3 separate regions of the Homo sapiens genome follow, and regions 2 and 3 are each linked to region 1. Evidence: promoter capture Hi-C in 16 types of primary human blood cells and fetal thymus (Javierre and others, 2016). All regions are on one chromosome and are shown on one strand. Each heading gives the region's core, a stretch centred on a gene start or on the middle of the fragment in contact. The rest is flanking DNA. Distances are from core to core; before and after follow the strand shown.

What was found. The method cuts DNA at HindIII sites, captures the fragments that hold promoters and counts their contacts. A CHiCAGO score of 5 or more calls a contact.
Region 2: the fragment with the promoter of CR1L here is called in contact with the fragment with the promoter of MAPKAPK2 in region 1 in 8 of 17 cell types (erythroblasts, naive CD8 T cells, naive CD4 T cells and 5 more); the score reaches 9.1 in erythroblasts.
Region 3: a contact is called between a fragment that was not itself captured here and the fragment with the promoter of MAPKAPK2 in region 1, in 2 of 17 cell types (total B cells and fetal thymus). The highest score is 6.1, in total B cells.

What each region holds. Positions count from the first base shown.
Region 1 is chr1:206,683,462-206,686,547 of GRCh38, reverse strand. It overlaps MAPKAPK2 (MAPK activated protein kinase 2), which reads right to left and starts at 1,643. Exons shown (of 10, transcript NM_032960.4): 1 at 1,040-1,643. The coding sequence starts at 1,318. It overlaps LOC124904495 (a long non-coding RNA gene), which reads left to right and starts at 1,742. Exons shown (of 3, transcript XR_007066833.1): 1 at 1,742-2,807; 2 at 3,005-3,086. RefSeq lists silencers at 378-467, 878-967, 978-1,027, 1,488-1,667. The HindIII fragment of the contact is 16,303 bases long and covers 1-3,086 here.
Region 2 is chr1:207,643,498-207,646,583 of GRCh38, reverse strand. It overlaps CR1L (complement C3b/C4b receptor 1 like), which reads right to left and starts at 1,451. Exons shown (of 12, transcript NM_175710.2): 1 at 1,254-1,451. The coding sequence starts at 1,350. It also overlaps the pseudogene CD46P1. RefSeq lists an enhancer at 1,342-1,421 and a silencer at 1,482-1,651. The HindIII fragment of the contact is 2,525 bases long and covers 1,062-3,086 here.
Region 3 is chr1:207,498,291-207,501,376 of GRCh38, reverse strand. All of the region lies in intron 1 of CR1 (complement C3b/C4b receptor 1 (Knops blood group)), which reads right to left. Among named protein-coding and RNA genes, the nearest start is that of CR1, 3.7 kb to the right of the region's middle. RefSeq lists an enhancer at 1,758-1,817. The HindIII fragment of the contact is 209 bases long and covers 1,520-1,728 here.

The DNA.
Region 1 (3,086 bases), core at 394-2,893:
TAGAGATTGGTTTGACCTGAAACCCCTGTGAGAGGAAAACCTTGTTGGTGACCCTGCAAGACCGGCTCACACTTCACTGCGGACCCACCCATCTCATGAGACCTCCCAGTCCATTGTGTTTAACTTCTGAAGTCGATATTCTCACTTGAATCCTTATTCTCCCCACCACCACACCCCTTAAAGAAAGAAAAGGGATGGGCTCCCCCGGCTCAAGGATAATGTTTCCTCAGACTGCCCATCACGGCGCGAGTCCAGGACAGCAAGTGGCCCTCTCTAGGAGGCGGAATCAGCACGGGCCCGGCCGCGGGTTACAGACTCTGTTCACAATGATCAGCCGGGCCGCGGACACCGCCGGCCTCTCCCCGGAGCCGCCCCGCGCGGGCGTGGGAGGGGGCCAGCTGAGGGGGCCAGCTCCGGGATCCAAATAATCCCGCCCCCGCAGCCGGGGGACACCCAGGACCCTCCCGCCGCACACCTCCTGCCCGGCGCGCCCCAAGGCGGCCCGGCTGCCCTCGCGAGGCTCGGGGAAGTGAAATCACACATTCCGGCTCCCAAATAAGGAGCGAGGCTAAATAAACCTCTGCGATCCGACTTCTCCAAACCAACCGACCAACCGGCTCAATGAGTAATGGGCCTTTTGTGCCCGCAGAGAGAGAAAAAGGAGGGAGGAGAGGACGGGGAACCACCAACCCCAAAATCACTTCCTTGAGATGGAGTGAAATTAGCAGAAGTCCCGAAGCCAACCGTTCTGACTCGGCTGGATCCCGCTCAAACCCCAAAATGGCAGGGTCCCCTGAGTCCCCAGGAGCGGGTCCCAGGGCTCCCGCCCGGGAGCGGCCGGAAGCGGTCAGGGAGGCGAGGGCGCTGGGACCCGCCGCCCGCGCCGCACTCGGCACCGCCGGCCCGGCCGCCCCGCCCCGCCCCGCCGCGGCCACCCCTCCGCCCCGCGCCGCGACCCAGGCCGGGACGGGCACCCGACGCCGTGGAGCTCCAGGGCCCGGGACCGGCCCCGCCTCCCCTCCCCGGGCCCCAGACCTACTTTGAGGGCGAATTTCTCCTGGGTCCTCTTGTTGAAGATCTGCAAAACTTTGCCGTTGATGCCCAGCCCCAGGACCTGGCTGGTGACCTTGTAGTCATCGATGATGGCGTTCTTCTTGATCTGCAGGCCGGACTTGACGTGGAACTGCGGGAACTGCTGCGGGGGCGGCGGCGGCGGCTGCGCCGGGGGGTGCGGCAGGGCAGGGGTGGGGGGCTGCGGCGGCGGGGCCGGGGCGGGGAACGGCACCGGCGGGCTCTGGCCCTGGGAGTTGGACAGCATGGTGCCCGGGGACGCCGGGGCACAGGCGGGGGTGCCCGCGGCCGCCCCCTCCTCCGGCTCCGGGCCCCCTCCCCGCCGCCCCCCGACGGGCTGCGAAGTTCGCTCCGGGCTGGAGCCGGCTTCCCCGACCCGGCCCGGCTCCAGGCTCGGCGGGTCGCGGGGCTCCGTGGGTCCCACCGCGCGCCGCTGGCTCCCACCGGCCCGGCGCCCTCCCTCCCTCCCCCCGGGGGCCTGGCGCTCTGGGGACCGCGGGGCGGCGGGGGCCCGGCCGGGGGGAAGCGGCCGCGCGACAATGTACCCAGCCCCGGGCCGGCGGCCGCGTCACAGCCTCGTCTGCGTCCGGGGCCGGTCCTTAAAGGGGAGGGGCGGGGGGCGGGGCCTGGGGAGGCGTGGCGTGGGGGGAGGGGCGGGCCTTAAAGGGGAGGACGCGCGGTGCCGGGAGCTGGGAGGATCGCGGAGTAGGCTGGGGGCTGCTGCCTCGCGGACAGTGAGAGGGGACAGGGAGAGGGGACGAAGAAATGCTAGTTCTTAACCAAGGCTATGCAAAGGGAGAGGGGAGGCGTGTCAAAGGAGCTGCATAATTCAGATGGAAAATCCACTCCTCTCCAATTGTCTGGGCTTCTTAGCGGCAGCGAATTGGGAGAGGGGTGTATTTCCAAGGACAGGGATGGCTTGTAGGTATCCAGCTAGATGAGACCTCGTGGGGGTGGGGGGGAGCTGGAATCACAGGGGTCATTCATCCCAGGAAAAGGTGTGAGCCAAAGGCGGGCGTATTAAATATTTCCCTAACTTCAACATTTTCCTCTGAGGTTTTTTGCATCTCTTTTCTCATTAATTTATTGTTTTTCAGTAAAGACGTATTATTGTGTAACCAGGAGCACTTTAGTAATTATACCTTTGAACATGTTTTCCTGTAAATAAACTAAAAAGGATACAGGGTGGGAAGAGGATGGGTTGAGATTGGGGCCACCTGAATTCCCGCCATCCTTTGCCACGGATTGGCTGTGTGAGGCTGAGCAAGCCTTGCACCTCTCTCTCCGTGGGAAGAACAGCGAGACCTTTTCAAAGGTTGTGGGCAGAGTCAAAGGAGATAATGAAACTGAAGGGGAGGCCCTGGGGAATGGCTTCTGATTTCCGATGTGGAAAAATTAATCCGTAAGAAGTGGGTTAGCCCCGTGTATCTCAGGAAAAGCCCAGGGATCTAGCTGGACCCTGCATAGAAGCTGCCAGGAGGCCTCCACACACATTCTGATGGGGTTCGAGATGACCAAGTACATTCCTGCCGACCTCCTCCCACCTCTGACTGGCAGAACATTTGAGAAATGGCAAGCAACCCAGACAGGTGAACACAAAACCTCAGCTTAAGTCTTGGTAAGGCCAGTTAGAGAATGAGGCTTGACCTATGGCCACACATGCCCCCTAATAGGTCCCCCAAAACTCCAGAGAGAAGACAACACCCCCAGAAGTGGCCACTGGGGATAGAACTTAGGTAGGTAAGGGACAAGTGCAAATGTCTCTTCCCTCATTCACCTTTCCCAGAAGATGCTTGTGGAGGCAGGAATGAGGGGGAGGAGTGAGGGGTGGGAGTTACCCTCCCAACACTGTCCTTTCCTGGGGCAGGTAGGGCTCTGTGGACCAAGGAGAGACATGTTTCCCCCGACACAAACATATGCTCTTCTCAAGCAGCATCTGCTTAGCTCCATGTACAAGGTGCCGTGCTCAGCCCTGCAGCGGTGGATGGTGTTATCTGATGGGGAAGAAGACAGAT
Region 2 (3,086 bases), core at 202-2,701, 960 kb before region 1:
ATACACCACCATGCCCATCTAATTTTTTTATTTTTTGTAGACATGGGGTTTTGACATGTTGTCCAGGCTGATCTTGAACTCCTGGGCTTAAGCAATCACCCAACTTGGGCCTCCCAAAGTGCTGGGATCACAGGTGTGAGCAACTGGGCCTGGCCTAGCATGCATTTTTAAAAATATTGATTCCATTCAATGAAATACAAAACAGTGGGATAGGCCTTAAGCTTCAGTTTATGAGCTGTAGGGGAAAACAAGATTAACATTATCTGCCTTCCTTTGTTAGGATACTAATTTCTCACTAGGTTTGGCTACCAGTGTTTTTTAGGTTGCTTCACATCTCTCAAATATGACTCAAACTAATGAAAAGAAGGAAAACAATGTCAAAAAGCCACTAGGCAATGGAATCAGATACTGTCTATATTGGTTGGGAACAGGAAGATGACTCGATGGCCCACCCACCCCCCAAAAAAGCAGCCACTTAAAATTCAAGACCAATACGATCTCAGGCAACACGGACACTGTTCACAGAAGGCACTAAAAGCATGGTGCGCCCTTACCACCTCTCTAACCCCAGGCACTGAGAGCCTGCTCTCACTCAACATGCCCTCCCTAGCCGCAGAGTCCGCGCTCGCTCCACTCAAAGCAAACAGTGAGCTGTCTTGCCCACAGTGAACTCCGCACACAGGCCACTTGCGCACAGCACGCTCCCAGCAACACCTGGCCAGGCCCCTGCTCGCCCAGCCCAGCCCAGGCCAGCCCAGCCCATGGGGCACAGCAGACGCACTGCAACCCTTACCGCGGGTACTGTCCAAGCCCTAATGAACACCCTACTCACCAAGGCACCAAGGGAACACAGGGCAAACTCTCACCACGGGCACAGCACGGGCTCTAGCAACAATCCCACGCACCTGTGCACTCCAGAGCAAGCCCTCACCTGGGGCGCCCAGTAAGCCCTCCCCTTGCTGACTGGGCTCAATCCCGAAAACACGATTCACGCTTCTTTTGGGAACGCAGCCAGATCCTGCGTAAATGTCGGCCGCGCACACGATGCCACCAAACAAGCTTCTGCGTGGTTCCCGCATCCCCCGCCACATACCCCCGGGATCTGAGCACGGCACCCCTCGGAGAACCCTGGCCTCGCTCTCTATCCCAAGCAGGCACGACGTGCAGTGAGCTTCGCCCCGCGCCTCCTGCCCGACTGACTGAGCAGAGCTCTAGCCTCGCCGCGGACGCGCGAATCCACCCCGGGGTCCTACCGGAGAAGGAGGACAGCAGCAACACCAGGGCCGCCAGAAGCAACCCAGGAAAGCGCCGGGAAGGAAAGGGACGCTCGAGACGGACGGGAGGCGCCATGAGCGGCGCGGGAGACCCCGTGATTTATCCGGAGGTGAGCAGAGAAACCGAAAGCCAGCCGAGCAGGGAAGTCCCTTCTGAGTCCGGTTAGTGGACACAACAATCCCCAAACTCACAGTTTCCAGGGCCGCATGACAGGTGGGCGTGGCCTGGGCGCGTAGTGTGAAATTGAGTCTTAGCGCCGGGGCGGCTGGGGCCAATCGGCGGGCCGCGGGGCGGGGCCTCGGCGCGCAGGGGCAGCCCGTTGGCCTTCGAGGAGACAGGGCGTGTCCAGAGCCCTGGCAGGGGGTTATCGTGGGCTAGCACCCCTCAGGGTTAGTTTTATCCTGGGGCACTGCAGGCTGTCAGGACTGCCTGGGCCCTTACTTGGTATTTGGCATTAGTCAGGCATTATTGGGAACAATATTTGAGTTTTTCTTGCTTGAATGCCTGCTACTGAATCGTCTCGGCGCCGTCTTCTTTTCACAGTCTCAAAGGTTTGGCTTCTGCACTCCCAGCCCCTAAGATAATTTGCCCTTTGCTCCCCTCCCTGGAGAGGACCCGTCAGAATCTAAATTATTAAGCAACACCAGGCCGTTAGCATATTGAGACTCTATGGGACCCTTGCCCTTGAGCAACTAAATGTTTTATTGAAGACGAAATATACATGCATGAACAATGTAAGGACAAGGGTGTCCTAAGTGCCAAATTCCTGGAAGCAATAAATGCAGGAGGATTGGGATGGGTAGAAATTGTTAGGCGAAGTGGATAAGGGGGAGAACTTTTCTGGTGAAACAATCTCAGGAACAATGTTGGAAAATTAAGAATGAGCAGGATTGATTTGTAGGGTTCTGAGTAAGCCAGTATGACTGGTAAAAGGGGGAAAAAAAAAGGGAACATGACTGGCATTAAAAGAGCAAACAAAAAAAGTTGACATCTCTTCCCCTCAGATTGGCAAAGAATTAAAACGTCAGCCAATGTGAGTGAACATGTTGCAGGGGGACCAGCACTCTGTTTGTAACATAACTTTTCAGAATGTTAAAAGTCTTAAAGTGGAAATGACTTGTGTTAGGCTCTCAGTTCCCAGAGAAATCATCAGAGCTGTGATCAAAGATTTATAATTTTTGTAAAAAATGTAAACCCTAAGTGTCTAGCAAAAGTAATAAGGAGGCAGTTACCTTTGTGTGATGGAATTCTATGCAGCAAGTATTGCAAAAGAATACCAAATGTGAGAAACTATGATATCATTGTAAGTGGAAAAAGCAGAGTCCAAATTGGCATGTGCATTTTGGCAGTCCTTTTATTAAAACAAAAATGCTATATATATATATATATATATACATACACTAATTTGGAACACAACAAAATTAACAATGGTTAAGATTATAGATATTTCACTTTCCTTGTGCTTTTCAGTTTTCTTTTTCTATGTTGACCCTATGTTACATTTAGAATAAGGTAAAGAAAATGTATTTTAAAAATCAAATCTATGTATCAATTGTTGTTTTGTTCATAGAATTATGGGAGTAGAACTTGTATTACACAGGGTTTGTATGAGAGGATAGTGAGGAATTAGATGCTTAGTGTATAAACCTAAAATGGGTCTTATGGAATTATAGAGTTTAAATGTATTTAATACAGTTCTATAACTGAGATGTACTGAAGACTTTCTGGGTTCACCAAACCACGGAATTTCCTCTTCCCAAACATTTTCAAATTTTTGGCATAGAATACAAGACATTGAGTCTGGTGGTATA
Region 3 (3,086 bases), core at 375-2,874, 810 kb before region 1:
TTGAAGTGTACAATTCGATTACTTATAACATATGTATGCGTTGTGAAACCATCACCAAAATGAAGACAATAAACGTTTCCATCATACATCCCACCCACACAGAGTTCCCTCATGCCCTTCTGTAATCCATCCAAACATCCACTTCCTTCTCTAGGCAACCTTCAATGTGTTTTCTCTTACTACAGATTGATCTGACTTTCTAAAATTTCATATAACCCGAATCACTTCGTTTATATCCTATCATATAAAGGAAATAACTCAGGTGGTTTTCTCTTACTACAGATTGATTTGACTTTCTAAAATTTCATATAACCTAAATCACTTCATTTATATCCTATTGTATAAAGGAAATCACTCAGGTTTTTTTTTATGGTTTAGCCTTCACACAGCATAATTAGAGATCCATCTAGGTTGCTGCATGTATACAAATTGTTTCCTTTAGTTGCTGGGTAATATTCAATTGCATAAATATATCTTAATTTAGTTTATCCATTTACTTGTTGAGGGACATTTGGATTGTTTCCACGTGTTGGCTATTACAAACAAAACTGCTATGAAAATTCATGTACAAGTCTTTGTGTGGACATATGATTTCATTTCTCTTGGGTAAAAACCTAAGAGTAAAATGTTGAGTGTGTGTCTAAGGTTTTAAGAATCTGTTGAACTATTTTCTAAAGTTAATGTTATAATTTTACCTGCCAAATAGCAGTATATTATAATTCCAGTTACTCCACCTTATCGCCAACACTTGGCTCGGTCAATCTTTTTCATTTTAGTCATTCTAGTGGGTATGTATTGTTATCTCATTTCGGGTTTTGTCTTGTATGACTCAGCCCACTTTCACATTCTCCTGGTTCAGATATTCCATTCAAAGCAAGTTGATGTATTCTGTGCTATATGCACAATTAACACATCATCACTTTCATGTCTGTTGCAATATGAGCTGTCAACCCAAAGAACACTCTGCTTTCCATTCTGCATACTTACCCTTTAAGGAATAGATTTGCACTTGCTTTGCTTAGGCACCTCTATCAGTTTAAAAAAAGAGCATGCCCTTTCAAATATATAAATTTATAAATTATATATGTACACGAACATAAATTATATGCCTCAATATAAATTTTTGAAATGTAACACAGATAAAATAAATATTTTAAATGCTTTGTTAATCATCATGACTTAGCACAATCATTAGCTAACATCTAACGGGACAAAAAACAGTCACATTGAGTCTCTCTGTTCACAATAGTGAATGTAAAGCTTATTTCGACAGTCTTCATGATACTTTCTAGGTTTTTTGGTTTCATCGAGTTGTGATCAGTTGTGATTAGACTGACAGCATTTCTTCTACTTAATGCCTCTGACAAAAAATGTGTATACATGTGTCTTTGCGGAGAGGGTGAGAGGGATTGTCAACTCTACCATTTTCTTGTTTTCTGGAGTTGGTTTTATTACTGGGATCTTCACCCAGCATTTCTGTGTAGGACACTTTTGATGTTACCTGTCCAAATGTGAAGCTTATTTTAGATTAAAATAGATAATATAAATCACACATCCACTCATCTGAGCATATGTAAACCAAAATACACCACAAAGCACAGAAAGCAAATTGGAACTTCCCTTCTATCTTGCACCTTTACCTAGCAGGGATAACCAAACCAGATCCTATATGAGGACCACGTGAGGGCGCCAGAGTCCACCCTATATTAAACACTGCCTGGTAAAGCTTAATTCGTGTACTATTTTATGGCTCAGAATGTGGTCTATCCCCATGAATGTAAGCGGGAGAATATGTGCTCTGCTGTTGTGGATGAAGTCATCTATATATGTCAATTATACCCAAGTGGATTGATGGTGCTGTTGAATTCAAGTATGTCCTTACGGATTTTCTGCCTGCTGAATCTGCCCATTTCTGATAAGGAGACTTCAGCACCTTTTCTGATATCAGAAAGATATCATAGAAGTCTCCAACTATGATAGTAAATCCATCTATTTCTCCTTGCAGTTCTATGGGTTTTGCCTCACGTATTTTGTCTCTCCATCAGGTGCATACATATGGGATATTGTTACGTCTTCTTGGATAATTGGCCCCTTTATCATTATATGATGCCCCTCTTTATCCCTAATAATTTTTCTTGGTCTGAAGTCTGCTGTGTTTGAAATTAACACAGCTATTCCTGCTTTCTGTGACTAGCATTAGCATGGTATATCTTTATCCATTTACTTTTCATATATATTGTCTATATTTAAAACGGTCTTGTTGTACACAGTATATAGTTGGGTCTTGTTTCTTGATCCACTCTGATGATCTGTTTCAAATGGTGCATTTCGATCATTGACACTCAAAATGATTGTTGATATAGTTGCTTTAGTTTTGTTACTGGTTTTTATTTGTTGCTTTTTTTCTCTTGTTCTCTGTTTCTATTTTTTGTCTTCCATTCTTTTCCTGCCCTTTATTGTTTTTTGTTTTGTTTGTTTGTTTCTTTTTTTTTTTTTTTTGATTTGGAGTTGCGCTCTGTCACCCAGGCTGGAGTGCAATGGCACGATCTCGACTCACTGCAACCTCCGCCTCCCAGGTTCAAGCGATTCTCATGCCTCAGCCTCCCGAGTAGCTGGGACTACAGGCACCCACCATCATGCCCTGGTAATTTTTGTGTTTTTGTAGAGACAGGGTTTCACTATGTTGGCCAGGCTGGTCTTGAACTCCTGACTTGAGGTGATCCACCCACCTCAGCCTCCCAAAGTGCTGGGATTATGGGCATGAGCCACTGTCCCCAGCCATCTTTATTGTTTTAACTGAGCATTTTATATGATGCAATTCTCTCTTACTTATTAACATATAAATTATAGTTCTTTTTTTCACATTTTTCAGGGGTTGTCCTACATTTGCAATATCTATTTGCAGCTAATCTAAGTCCTCTTTCAAATAGCACTATACCACTTTACGGGTACTGTGAGTAACTCATAATAACAAAACAATCCTAGCTCCTCTGCTATTTTTTGTCGTATGCAATCTGTTTCTAGATTCACTCTTTAAGTGCTAGTAAAGCCATATACCTTTCACTCATCCTTTCCTGATCATAGGA